Regions from separate parts of the Homo sapiens genome. Here all the other regions are linked to region 4. The links are contacts of gene promoters, found by promoter capture Hi-C in blood cells and fetal thymus (Javierre and others, 2016). All regions are on one chromosome and are shown on one strand. Each heading gives the region's core, a stretch centred on a gene start or on the middle of the fragment in contact. The rest is flanking DNA. Distances are from core to core; before and after follow the strand shown. Region 1 overlaps ELMOD2 (ELMO domain containing 2). Region 2 overlaps SCOC (short coiled-coil protein). Region 3 overlaps MAML3 (mastermind like transcriptional coactivator 3). Region 4 holds the start of NOCT (nocturnin).

What was found. Contacts are between HindIII fragments. The CHiCAGO score rates a contact against its expected background, and 5 or more counts as called.
Region 1: a contact is called between a fragment that was not itself captured here and the fragment with the promoter of NOCT in region 4, in 2 of 17 cell types (fetal thymus and activated CD4 T cells). The highest score is 5.4, in fetal thymus.
Region 2: a fragment that was not itself captured here is called in contact with the fragment with the promoter of NOCT in region 4 in 1 of 17 cell types (fetal thymus); the score reaches 11.6 in fetal thymus.
Region 3: a contact is called between a fragment that was not itself captured here and the fragment with the promoter of NOCT in region 4, in 1 of 17 cell types (activated CD4 T cells). The highest score is 5.0, in activated CD4 T cells.

What each region holds. Positions count from the first base shown.
Region 1 is chr4:140,528,224-140,531,575 of GRCh38, forward strand. All of the region lies in intron 3 of ELMOD2 (ELMO domain containing 2), which reads left to right. Among named protein-coding and RNA genes, the nearest start is that of ELMOD2, 5.7 kb to the left of the region's middle. The HindIII fragment of the contact is 532 bases long and covers 1,502-2,033 here.
Region 2 is chr4:140,374,516-140,377,983 of GRCh38, forward strand. The region is part of intron 1 of SCOC (short coiled-coil protein); the gene reads left to right. Among named protein-coding and RNA genes, the nearest start is that of SCOC, 2.6 kb to the left of the region's middle. The HindIII fragment of the contact is 6,823 bases long and covers 1-3,468 here.
Region 3 is chr4:140,093,625-140,096,887 of GRCh38, forward strand. The region is part of intron 1 of MAML3 (mastermind like transcriptional coactivator 3); the gene reads right to left. Among named protein-coding and RNA genes, the nearest start is that of MAML3-AS1, 33 kb to the right of the region's middle. RefSeq lists an enhancer at 1,411-1,460. The HindIII fragment of the contact is 286 bases long and covers 1,871-2,156 here.
Region 4 is chr4:139,014,199-139,017,629 of GRCh38, forward strand. It overlaps NOCT (nocturnin), which reads left to right and starts at 1,583. Exons shown (of 3, transcript NM_012118.4): 1 at 1,583-1,973. The coding sequence starts at 1,784. RefSeq lists enhancers at 1-1,142, 279-1,200, 1,233-1,582 and a silencer at 1,723-2,022. The HindIII fragment of the contact is 5,482 bases long and covers 360-3,431 here.

The DNA of each region.
Region 1 (3,352 bases), core at 518-3,017, 1.5 Mb after region 4:
CCGTAAGGCTATGGTAGGGAGTAGGTTGTATAATTCAATTACAAGGTAATGAAGAATTGGGACCAATAATTCAGTCTACCACATGCTGTTACTTCCCTATTGTAGTTCACAATTTTGTCTACATGTAGATTATTTGGTGTGGCAAGGATAGAATACGGGTCATCTAGACCATTGTTTGAAATCCCATAATAGAACACAACCAGTATTAAACAATAATAGGAATAGAACAGAAAATATTTAGAAACCATTGGTCATAATATGGTTAAATATATTTTAGGAATTTTTTATACTATTATAATTATTTTAAATATTTCTGTGTACATCTGTGTGTATTTTGGACATCCACATGAATGTTTGTTATTGATCATGATGTAAAATGTGGCTCAAGGTCAAAAATGTTGATTTGCTACTGTCTAGTATTATGAATCGTGCCAGAAATAAAATAGACCTTCTTGAGAGTTGCAAGCATATCTGTTATGTTCTGAAGAGTAACCTTTAAAATAGGTACTTTAATGATTTAGTTGTACTCTTTAAGAATGGTCTATTTAAGAATAACTCATATATATAAGTGAATATTTGGGGGAAGAGTCCAGAGTTACACTCCTTTGTTCAGAATTGTTAGAGAGTGATTAATATATTTTTTAAAATGAGGATGTGGAGGTCCTGAAAGCTAACAGGTTGCTGGTTCTCAAAATTTATTTATACCTTATTTATTTGTATAGTTCCTTTATTTGAAACATAGGATGCAGTTTCCCAAAGTAACAATATTACAAATTTTAGCAGATGCACTTGGGGAGGTGTTATATTTCAGGTCCATTACAAGAGTAGTCCTTAAACTTAAGGAAGAATCAAAATCTTCTGGAGGCCTATTAAAACACAGATTATTGGGCCCCATCCCCGGAATTTCTGGTCTGGTTCTGATTGCATTTCTAACATGTTCCCAGGTGATACTGCTGCAGCCGTTCCTGCTGGTGAGGGCAGTGTCTTGAGGCACTAATAGCATATTAGTATGCTGTCTGGGGACTGTTGTGGATCATAACTGCTTTAACTTTGTTTCGATAGGAAACTGTGTATGTTTTTCAAACTGACCTTAAACAAGTTGGTTTGGAACTATTTGGGTGCTGAACCCTCTAGAATGAATTGTTCTGTGAAATCTGTTTTCTTTAAGCCTCGACATTGTAAAGAGAGTAAAACCATAGCTGAGCTCTTTATGTTATACCCACAATCCCAGCTTCCAACCAATTTTTTCAGTAGTGTGTTCCTCCAAATAACCTTGACATCTCTCAGCCTGGAAGTTGTCCAACACTGCCATTGCTGTCCACTAAAACTCTTATCTGGTCCCCTTCATTACTCTCTGACTTTATCTACTACTGTTCTTGCCTTGCTCACTGGTCATCACCACTATGCTGCCTGTTATTTTCCAAACACATCAGCATGCTTCTGGTTTATGACCTTTGCACCAGGTCTTCTGTTTAAGTAGAATTATCTTCTCCCGCTTAAAAGCTTAGCTCACTTCCTCATTTTCAGGTTTTTCCTCAGTTATGACATTCTCTATGAGATTTTCCATGACCATTCTCTACCTAAGGGTATACCTTTGTCTCTCTTTATGATCCCCTTTCCTTAATTGTTTCACCATAGCACAGACCATCACTAGCGTACTAAATATTTTACTTACTTATTTTTCCATTCCTGAAAAGAAAAAGGCATTGTTTATTTTTTGTTGTTGTTTTGTTCACTGATGTTTTTCTAGTACCTGAAACAGTGCCTGGAATGTGATAAGGCTCTGAATATTTATTGAGTGAATGAATGAATAAGTGAGAAAAATAAGAGGATAAAGAATAATAAGTAAATGAAAATTAACTTTTTTCAGAATAGAGTGTAGTGTTTCTTTTATTTACTAATTTACTGTAGAGGTTCTGGAACTGGGGACTCAGTATCACATCTATCAGTGTAATTGTTATAACTGCATTTGTAACAACAGTTTTGGTCACAGAATTTATTAATGGGATTGTATGTGTGGTAAAATCATGCCAAGCTTAAGTGGAACAATACATAAGATGCTACATTTAAGAACTCCAGTGCCTTGGTCAAATCCGTCCAAGGATTTGAATGACTACCACATGTTCAGTATTCAACCAGGGTCTTTGGGATATTCAAAAGATATACAAAAGAAGACTGGAATTGAATGTAATTGTAAGTAGAAGTTTAGAGAAGGAAGAGGTAAATGTAGACTAGAGTGTTTGGGGATTTTAAAGTAGTGGTTACAAGTTAAAGAAAAATAAAATGTTCATCATTTTTTACCTCTGTTTCTTGCTATTAAAAAGTTCACTTGAAAAGTAAACATTAAAATTGTATTCTTATGAACTTCATTATTCAAAAATAGAAATTGCTATAGTACTTTGGAGGGCATCCTGCAAAGAGAGTGGTCAACAAATGGGTAAATACTGAAATTAAATCACTTAACGATTTATTCTTTTAAGGTTTTAAATCTAAGACAAACTTTCCAATAAACAGAGGTAGCCTTATCAATTTAAAAATATAATTTATGTGTGTATTGCACCTAATTTGTATATTCCATTTACTTTGTAGGGTAAATCTATTTCTCATTTTGTGATATTTTGGTTTACCTAATTACATTTTTATTCGATAAAAAAGTCTGGGTTCAAATCCTGATATTATCAATTACCAGTTGTTTGACTGTGTACAAGTTACTTATTTTCTCATTCTAAAAGCTATTCATACCCACATAGTTGTTTTGAAATTAGAGATATTACTATGAAAACAGTCTAAGAGAATGCCCAATACTTAGTAAGTATTCAACAAATAGTGGTTACTAATAATATTAATGATAATATAATTAAGCCAATATATACCATAATCATTTTAGAAATTTGATATTCATGAAAACCTCTTTGGTACTTGAGAGTACTTAGCATTACCAATGATTGCTGTGAATAAAAGTGATTTTAATCTATTCAGAGTGATTCCCTAAAGCAGTGATCTTGAAGTATGATCATGTTGGACTGTGCACTGTTCCACAGTGTGCATTCTTTCTTTGTTAAAAATTGAATCTTATTTGCTTATATTTTAGATTAAGGACTATTTATCAATTAGATATTAAGGGTTAACAAACTGGGATTTATAAATAAAAATTAATGACTTATTCGAATTTGAGGAGTCTAATTCAATATTCTGCTAAGAAGTCTGGCTTCCATGCAATATATGACAATGGAGCAAAGCTCCACTGTACTTACGCATATACAGGCATTTGAATTTCTGAAAGTTAGGGAGGAATACTTTGGCAATCTATTGGTGTTTTTGGTGGCTGTCTTTTTATTGCAGCTGCCGTCTT
Region 2 (3,468 bases), core at 765-3,264, 1.4 Mb after region 4:
GGCCAAACAGTTCCTTGATCTTGTGGAATTTGAAACTGGATTTATTTAACCAGGACAAGTCAAAGCAGAACTTGAACAGATCTGAACAGACATTATATTGAAGTTCCGTAGCTTGAAGGGAATGGAGTTTATTTTCAGTTGCTTAGTAAAGATTCCAGAGGAGTTTGACATCAGTGGTAGCAAAATGTTTGGCAAACTTAAGATTAGGGCCATATTAAAGTTTTTTCCATTGCATAATGGAAAAAGCATGGACTGTGAAGTTAGACCTGGGTTCAAATTCTTGGTAGAGACATTGGCTGTGAAACCTCTGAAACAGCTTTTCTGAAAGATATATAGACTTTCTGAAATTTAGTGTCCATATCTGTAAATTGCAGTTTCCTTCTGTTGATTTGATGAAATAACATATGCAAAGCATTTAGCACATTAATGCACGAAGACATTATTTTAGCAGTCTTAGTAGTTCTCCAGTATGACAGATGGTGAAATCAATTTTAGATGCAGAAAAGTTGAGTGGCTGAAGATGGACGGGTATTAGGAAAAAGTCTCAAAATCTGCAGGCTCAGATGTGACAATAGTTGTGGTGGAATGGTGGAAAAAACACTGGGCATTTGTTGTAGTCTTGGCCCTGTTGCTAACTACTTCTGTGGTCTTCAGTAAGCCATTGTCATCTTTGGCCTTGATTTTGTAAAATGAAGCAGCTGGACCAGATGGTTTTCTTTAAATTCTTTCTGTTGCCCAAATTAGAGCTAAAAGGTAGAGAAGACGATAGCAGACATTTATTGAATACCTACTATGTACTAGGTACTGTTGCCAACACATTGTATCTATCCACTCATTCTCACAACAAACCCATGAGATACGTACGGTTATTATCCACATTTTACAAATGAGGAAACTTAAGGCCGAGGTGTTAACCTTGCCCAGGGTTCCAGAGCTTATAAATTGCAGAGCTAGGATTTGAATCCAGGTAATCTGAATCCATATTGTTAATCATTGTGCCAGGCTGCCTCTTGAGGAGAGTGATATTGTGGATATTGTACACTATTAGAGATAACTGTAAAATAAGATAGGGGCATATTTGGTAAGATGATCGTCTTTGGTCACAGGTGTGTGTGCATGGCAAAAATTATTTAATTAAATGAATCTTGTCCCAATGTTTGCCACATTTCCTGGTTTGTATTCTCTCTATGCGTTCTGCCTCCTGGACTTAAATAATCAAAAAAGTAATTCTAGATTCCCTTCCACTAACCAAGGCTAGATACCCGAATTTACTGTGTTTTTTGAGAAACCTTTGAAAGGTCTGACCTAGCCATACATCAGAGCTGAAGAATCTCAGCGAACCATGTCCATTTCTGGGGTAAGGTGGTTTAGGATAGGCAGAGCAGCCTCAGCGCCCCAAATTCATTTCAGTGTTCCCACGCTTGAGCAGACTTGGTCTTAATTTTCTCGTTTTTCATCAGATTTGCGTTTATATATAGGAGCAGAAGGAGTTGAAAGTGAACTCTTAAGAGCATATTTGACATGGAATTAGATTGATGTTATAGCAACTATAGGTAAAAAAGGATTTTATAGTTGAAAAATTTGAAAAGCTCAGTATTAAGTATCTGTTATGATGTAGTACTGTGTTAATGTAGACTTTGGGCAGTTTGGGGATCAATACTATTTTAAAAGAAAAAATCCATGGCTAAAATACTTTGACATAAAGAACTCAGCAAGTCTTTTGATCCCATATGTCAAACAAATCAGTTTATTGCCCTAAATCTACTGAAAGACTTTGAATATATATTAATACAATAGTAGCATTTTGAGATGGGTCTATTTGATCACATCACAATAAAATACAATTGCTTCTTGTTCTTTTGTCGTGGAAAGGCAGCAGGTAATGCTGTGGTCCACTGTACTAAAGAGTAATGCCCTTATGCGTAGGGCTGCCAGATACAGTGGGCGGTTTTTTCACTGTGCAACACTTGGGATGCAATCTTACGTAGACTGTGGTGTGAATTGTGCTCTCTCGCGTTGTATACCCTTATAGCACTGTTCTTGTGGCACTACTTTTGTGCTCCTGCCTCTACCCTAATCTTGAGTGTAAGAGTAATTTTTCCTTTAATAAGCCCTCTCCACCCTGTTTTTCTGCTTTTTATTTTCTTTCACTTTTTCAGATGAAGTCACACTGTTGCTAAACCATGCATAGGTTTTCTATTGTTTGAATTATATGTGGTCAGAATTTCAGAAACTGGCTTCTTTTTCTTTACCTCTTATATTGGTGAGTTTGGAATACTTGTGTTTTTGCAGACTTTTTGGTTTAATTTAAATATTAGTCTGAAACATAAGCAAAAGAAGACTACCCTATCACTGTATTATATCTGACTTCAAAATCAGCTGTGTCGATTTTCTGATTATCTGTTGCTTTGGCTTGTATATCTTATAACTCTTCTTAGCTATCATGAAAATTCGTTCTAGCTGTAGCCTTAAAATCATTGGATATGAGAAATTTGAAGCACTTTTAATTTATTATTTAGCAAAGACAGATGCCAAATTGCAGCTTACTCTTGCTGAGCACTCCCACGATCACTTTTGCTTTTGGCTGTTGCCTCTCTCATCTTACTCAGACCTCTTTTAGCTGGATCAGTGGTTGAAATGGTATGAAAAGAGAATGACTGTAGTACCTGGTTACAGGTGTGCTTCTCTGTCAGGGAAATGTCAAATCAAGTTTTCACTGACACTCTTCCTCTTCAATTATAGTTAAAGAGACATGTTGATTCAATGGAGAGGAATAGTTTTTGGAGTGTGGTCTTTAAATACTACAGTAGGCTGAATAACTTTTAAAAAAAGAATTGTTGGAAAAATTTTAGTAATCTGAAATGCAGAGAACCTGAGAATTAAATAATGTGAAAAAGAGGTCGGGCAGAGCAACTTTAAATGCGGTTTAGATAAGGGGACAGATGCTAGAAGACTTGGAGTAGGTTTATTCAGCATTATTAAATTAATTGTATACCATTTGTAGTTAATTATTTAATAATGTTATACAAGGGATATTTCATATTTTTTTCTAGACTAGTGAGTGCTATCTAACTTGAACTATAAACTTGAAGTTTATGTATATGTACACTGGGCATTTTAATTTGAAGTTCATGTTAGTATCTAAAGTGTAACAGGATTTATGTAGATGTACACTGGGCATTTTCAAATTTCATGTTAGTATCTGAAGTACAACAAGATTTGTATTAACAGCTGTGAGAGAATGTGTAATACACTGATATCTCTATTGTGATTCTAGTTCTAGTATGTAGATATCCTTATTTAATAGGTCTGCTTTCTACTGTTTAAGATACGGAGGCATAACAATGCCTTGGGCATAGAAGATATTCAGTAAATACTTGTTGAAAGAATAACACTGACAGGTCTAGGTTGCTTCAATGTAGTAGATTAGATTGGTTAACAAATCTGTTTTCAGTAATAATCTGGTGA
Region 3 (3,263 bases), core at 764-3,263, 1.1 Mb after region 4:
TCACCGTGTTAGCCAGGATGGTCTCGATCTCCTGATCTCGTGATCCGCCCGTCTCGGCCGCCCAAAGTGCTGGGATTACAGGCGTGAGCCACCGTGCCCAGCCAAGACTCATGTCTTTAAATAGTTTGTTTACTCTGCCTTCCTGGATCAAATCTATACCATCATGTGCTGCATTAGGGCTTTTCTCCCAGAAGGTTGAAACCTCCCATGATTGTAGAGGCAGCACCTTGGCTGTATTACCCTAGCCTGAGATTTCCTTTGGAGTGCATTCGGTCTGGCCGTCAGGTTGTCCTGCTCACTGTGCAGCATGATCCCCCTGACATTCCATCCTTTGGAGCCCCAGTAACCACAGCAGGAGGGCCAGCAGCTGAGGCTGAGCCAGAAGAGACCTGTTCTAGCTGGATCTGCACAGCCTGGTCTCTGGGTCTAAAATAAAACTCTTAACTTCTCTGCCAATGAGCTCTGCCAGGCCTGATGACGTAACAGGTCCCTTCAGTTCTATTTGCAGGCAAGGTCCATTTACATCAGGATTTCATCCAGGTAAGGGGGAATTTGGGAGGGGGAGGGAGTGAGGGACTCTCAGAGAATGGACCTGTCTTCCCATCATGCATGGAAAAGGTCTGAAAGAGCTGGTGAGGTGCCAAAGTAATTGTACACGTCATCTTGAGCTGTGCAAAGAGGAGCAGGCCTAGCTATAGCTAATTGCTATCCTCCGGCTATATGCTCCCCACTGAATACCAGAGAGGGGAATCTGTTCGGTGCATAACAAAGAAAAATCACAAGTAAAATAAAGCTAAGCAGCAGCCGGCCAACGCTGTGATGCTGCGACCGCCAACCATGGCCAGCCACACACAGGGAAACTCGGATTTGTCCTCACTCATCTTCTCTCAGGCCTTCTAATTAAGAAAACCTTAAACTTGGAACCAATTTACTCCTTTCTCGCTCATTTAAGTCATCACCCTGACCCATCTCTGATGAAGACAGAGCACTTCAAACAATGGAGAGTAGTTCCTAAGATAGCCGGTGGCCAACGTGAACTTCCTAATTAAGGACCCACACAAAAGTAACTTTCTCTTCTTCTGGGCTCTTTGTGTTTGTAAAAATGCGGCTTCAAGCTGAACAAACTATTTGATCATCTTCCCGCTTCCTTCCTCCTTTCCTGTCTGTCTGTCTGTAATGTTTCTCAGCTGATCAATAGCTGTCTCTCTGTGTCATGAAGTGTGCAATAAGCTGTTCTTTTTCTTTTGTCTCAAAGCCAGAAGACGCTGTATGGAAAGACCAGTTCCTCTTCTCCCACCCTTCTAGCTGTGCGTGGCAGCCCAGTGGAGGTCTGGACGCTTGCCACTGAGTGCCAAGAGCAAAACCCAGGCCAATCAGCAGGACGGATCCAAGCCCCTGACTGCAGCAGAGGTGCCTCTCCGCAGCCAGGCTGCAGCCACCCACAGCCTTGGGGCTGCCCTGACCCTGCCTCAGGCAGGAGCCCCGCCTCCTTCTCAAAGGACGTCACAGAGTACCTGCCCTTGGGGTGCCACACATCTTTCTTTGCTCTCTTTTTTCAGATTCAATTTGCCTGAATAGGAAGAACCTCTCCTTCCTGCCTAATCTATTCCCAGAAATCCCAGCTGCTCTCCCCAACTTTCACAGAGCAAATCAGTAGGCCCACCACTGTCCATGTTGGAGATCACACTGAGCCTCGTCTGGACCCCCCACTGCTTCTGGAGCATCTCCACAGACGGTCAAATCTGCATATCCAAACCTGAATCCTTCATCTTTCTCTCCCACTTGACCCCCAATTGGCAACAACACCCTGCGCTCCAGGCTGAGGGTCAGGCTTAACTGTCCCCTCTCCTCATCTCCTACATCCTCTGCAAGCTTTCTAAATTTTATTTCACACACATTTCTCAAATCCAGCCCCCAGAATCTAGAGATAAGACCACAGCCCTAGTTCAAGCCCAAATCCATCCTCCTCACTGCCCTTCTTGCCCCCTCTTCTTTCCAGGGGCCGCCTAACACAGAATTCTAACTCCATTGCCCTGTGTCCCTCTGCCCTACCCTCCGAGCCCCCCAATAACATCTGAGAACCCATGTTCCTCTCCACTGTCACCCACTCAATCCTTGCAGCAGGGACCTGCACTGGTTCCTACCCCGCCACAGGAAGCTTCCTGCTTCCTGTTCAGGCTCCACCCTCTCCAGAGAAAGGCCCCTCCTCCCCTTCACCCAGCTAATAACTCTGACTTTGTTCACGGACTCCCCACCTCCAGACTGGGCTAAGTGCTTCATACACATTTCTGTCATTGGATCAAGCTCCTAAAGGGCAGGGACTGGGTAATATTTCCCTGTGTAGTCTCAGCACCCAGTTACACACTGTGGGCTCCTGTTACACACAGCAGGTTCTCAGCAATTGGGATATTGCATTTGTACTTTCAGATTACTAGCTGATGCTCTCTATTACCTACCACAGGGCAATCAATACCTAAGTATGCCTTAGACCCATTCTGGTGCTACCTATTTAAAGAAGGCAGACTCCTAGACACCAACGGTTGTGTCTATGGAACATATTTTGTCTAGCAACTTACGCACTTTGGGGTACTTAATAACTTGATGGAGTTGAAGATGATGACGGTGACAATGACGTCAACCAGGACAGGAAACTGGAGATGATTAGACATCCTTTATTCTCCAAGGCTGTGTAGCTGCTTAAAACAGTTCTCGATGAGTCACAGAATGACAGCTCATTTATCTTGAAACCTTAACTAACCAGAATACAGCATGGACCCTCAGTCAGACACACTTCTGAGAAGCTGAAATACGTATCCGAAAGTTCACATGCTTGTCCACACACAAGTTAAAGAGGTAACTTGTGGAAGGGGTCATCTAGTCTGCATTCAGGGCCTATTTATTCTTGCTTAACATTCACCTTGATAATCTATGCGATCTCATTCCTCAGTCACAGCAAGTTATTTGATGTAAAATATGAGAAGAGGCGAGGTGGCAAGAGGCTGCTGGGGACTGACACGTGGGAGCAGTGCAGAAGAGAACCCTGACAAACCTTAAAAGAACACAAAGTACATAGTAGTCTTGGGATGGCTCATGTTGAGGGACAATGAGTTCCACACATATTAACAAACCCTAATGACACCATCACACAAAGGTACAATATTTACCCTCACGATGATGAGCAAGATACCGAGAGAGTTACATTCTGTGCAATATTTTCTACCTGCAGAGAAAAGGAAGTTGAGAGAATATTTTAAGATGATTTC
Region 4 (3,431 bases), core at 333-2,832:
CCTAGATTCAAAATCAACATTTTGCTATATTTGCAAAACACTTTTCATAGGCTAATTTTATTATCACCTTTTTAAAAAAATTCTTTTTACAAGTACTGCTCCTTGTGGAGCAGGACTACTCGATAGACAGTGTGCCCAGAGTAGCTTATTATCATTTTTTATTTCACCTAATGACTAAGGTATGATTCTATGTTTTATAGATAAGGAAACTGAAACTGAGGCTTTAATGACTTCCAAGGAGCTTGTCTGCCAGAAGTTGTAATCAACTTGTGCCAGCTGATCTGTCCACACCCTCTATCCACAGGTGTTAGATATGTAACCTAGGTCTGAAAAATATTTAGAATATTCTTGTGATGAAAAGCTTGCAATTCCACAACACAGGGGAATCAGCAAAATCATGGGAAAACCAATAGAATACATTTCTAACTCATGAATCATTCAGAGAAAAATCCAGTCTTGGGTTTTCCCTCCCCCTCATCCCATTTCTATTCCTGATTAGTCATCATTTCCTGCCCAGCCTGTCTGAGATGTTTCTTCCATCCTTTCTTTTCCAGTAACAGTAACCTGGTGCGGGTCTACAGTATCTGTTATCTCAGCTGATTTCCTTTCTGCCTTTTCATGAACCAGAGACATGTGATTTCCAATTAAAGCACAGCCCTGACCATGTCTTTGCTCAGCTTACAAAACGTCAACGGCTCGCAGCTATCCACCGAATTAAGCCTACTATAATCCCCTTCCTTCCACACTACAACCTATCCACGCATCTGTCCTCTTACTCCTTAGCTTCCATCTTACATGACTAAGAGTTGTTTCCCCAAATACACCCTTATTTACTTTTTTCATTTATAACTCACCACCACCCCCTCCAAAGTTTCACGTGGGTAAATTCTAGACCTCCACGTCATAGGCCAACTCAAATGCCAATCCTTCTAATGAACCTTCTAGAGAGCCCGGGCCTGTTGTCATCTCTATAGCCAATCTTTGGCATCTTGTGGCAATAATCTCATTCTACCTTGTAGAGCTTTCTGGTCTGACTTCCCTTGCCACCTTCTGCTCCCTTTGCCTAAGTATAACACTTTTGAGGAAAAGAACGCTGTTTTAATCATCGTCGCCTCGCCCACAGGCGGTGCTTTATTGTGCTTAATATCGTTTAACGCATCACACACTGCCGAGGGGGTCGGAGGCGGACGCCTTTTGCTGTATCCACACAGACCCGCGCAGGCACACACGTAGGCCGTCTGCCACTCTGACAGACACGTGTCCCCTGGGCCACAGCCCTGGAACTGTCTCGGGATTCCCAGCCTGTGGGCGCTTCCATGCTGGCCAGCGGAAGGGGACGCTTTTTTCTTCAGAACAGCTCCAACGGATACCTCTTATTTTAGACCGCCTGCGGATTCTATCTATAAATCAGCCTAAGCCCCGCTTCCTTTTAAAACAGGATTACGCCGGGTCGAGGGAGCCTGGCGTGGCCGCGCAGTGGCCGGGTCCCGCGGATTCCCCTCCAGCTCCCGCTTGGTAGCGCCCGCTTTGTCAGCGCGCAGCGCTCGCCGGGCGCCCTGCAGGTCTCGCCAGGTCTCACAGCAGACGGTGCCGACGCAGCGGTGTTGCACCTCCCTCTCCGGCTCTGCTGCCCGGGATTTCCCCAGAACCTGCGCCGCGCGAGAAGGAGCCTGGGAGCATCCGCCCACACTGCCCGGACAGTCGGCTCGACTCGGTGCCCTCGGCCCCAGCCGGGCTCCGCTCCTCGGGCGCGCGAGGGGCCGTGGTGGCGGCGGCGCCCGGCATGTTTCATAGTCCGCGGCGGCTCTGCTCGGCCCTGCTGCAGAGGGACGCGCCCGGCCTGCGCCGCCTGCCCGCCCCAGGGCTGCGCCGCCCGTTGTCCCCGCCGGCTGCTGTTCCCAGGCCCGCATCCCCCCGGCTGCTGGCGGCGGCCTCGGCGGCCTCGGGCGCCGCGAGGTCGTGTTCCCGAACAGGTGAGTGCACCCCAGTTCCGGGCGGAGAACGCCACGGCCGCCAACGCGCGGCCGCCACCTGGAGACCGCGCGGAATGAATGAGAAGCCCGGGGCTGCCGGTCGTGGAGTCTGGCCTGAAAGTGGGTCCTTTACCGGAGCAACCTTCTGCGTTCCCTTTTTCCTCTTTCCCTGTTCCCCGACTTGCCTGGGGCTTGCATCAAAGCTAGTAAGAACTGGGAGACTGTATTCAGGTTCCCGCTTGACCCTTAGAGGCCATGCTTTCAGAATTTCTTGTTCTTGACCGTTAAATTTCCCCCTTCCGAGGCCGCGAGTTACTATGTTGGTTACATTTTTTATTGCACGACTTAACGGAAATTTTTATGGAAAAAAAAATCTAAATGATGCTTATTTGCTTATATAGCTTTCATGGTCTAGATATTAAGTTTTTTTTTTAAGTCGTGATAATAACACATTGATTCGTTTTACGTTGTTTTTTTTTTTTTTTTTTTTTTTTTTTTTTGAGATGGAGTCTCACTGTGTCACCCAGGCTGGAGTCCAGTGGCACGATATCGGCTTACCGCAACCTCCCGCTCCCGGGTTCAAGCGATTCTCCTGCCTCAGCCTCCCGAGTAGCTGGGATTACAGGCGCCAGTCACCACGCCTAGCTAACTTTTGTATATTTAGTAGAGACGGGGGTTTCACCATTTTGGCCAGGCTGGTCTTGAACTCCTGACCTCGTGATCCACCCGCCTCAGCCTCCCAGAGTGCTGGGATCACAGGCGTGAGCCACCGCGCTCGGCCATTTTACGTTTCTTTGGATTTTTTTTTTTTGGAGGCTTCCACTCTTTATAGTTAACATCATTTTTTGTCCTGTGTATCTAAGATCTTGTAAAAGTGAGGCCTTAGTTTCACCAAGAGCTGTTTTCATACATCATAATAACTACCCTGAGTTTTCCTTTTTTGCTACCTCTGTTTCTGCCTGGGCACACATTACCATGGCCACAAATTACATACAAATTAATTATACTTTAAAAATTGATAAATTTTTTCTTTCAAAACTAGGCAATACATAACTTTTTTTTTTTTTTTTTTTGAGACGGAGTTTTGCTCTTATTTCCCAGGCTGGAGTGCAATGGCGCGATCTCGGCTCACCGCAACCTCTGCCTCCCGGGTTCAAGCGATTCTCCTGCCTCAACCTCCCGAGAAGCTGGGATTACAGGCATGCGCCACCGCGCCAGGCTGATTTTTGTATTTTTAGTAGAGATGGGGTTTCTCCATGTTGGTCAGGCTGGCCTCGAACTCCCTAGCTCAGGTGAACCTCCCGCTTTGGCCTCCCAAAGTGCTGGGATTACAGGCGTGAGCCACCGCCCCCCCGGCCTATAAAATTTAAAAAAATAGGCCGGGCGCGGTGGCTCACGCCTGTAATCCAGCACTGTGGGAGGCGGAGGCGGGTAGATCACCCGAGGTCAGGAGTTCGT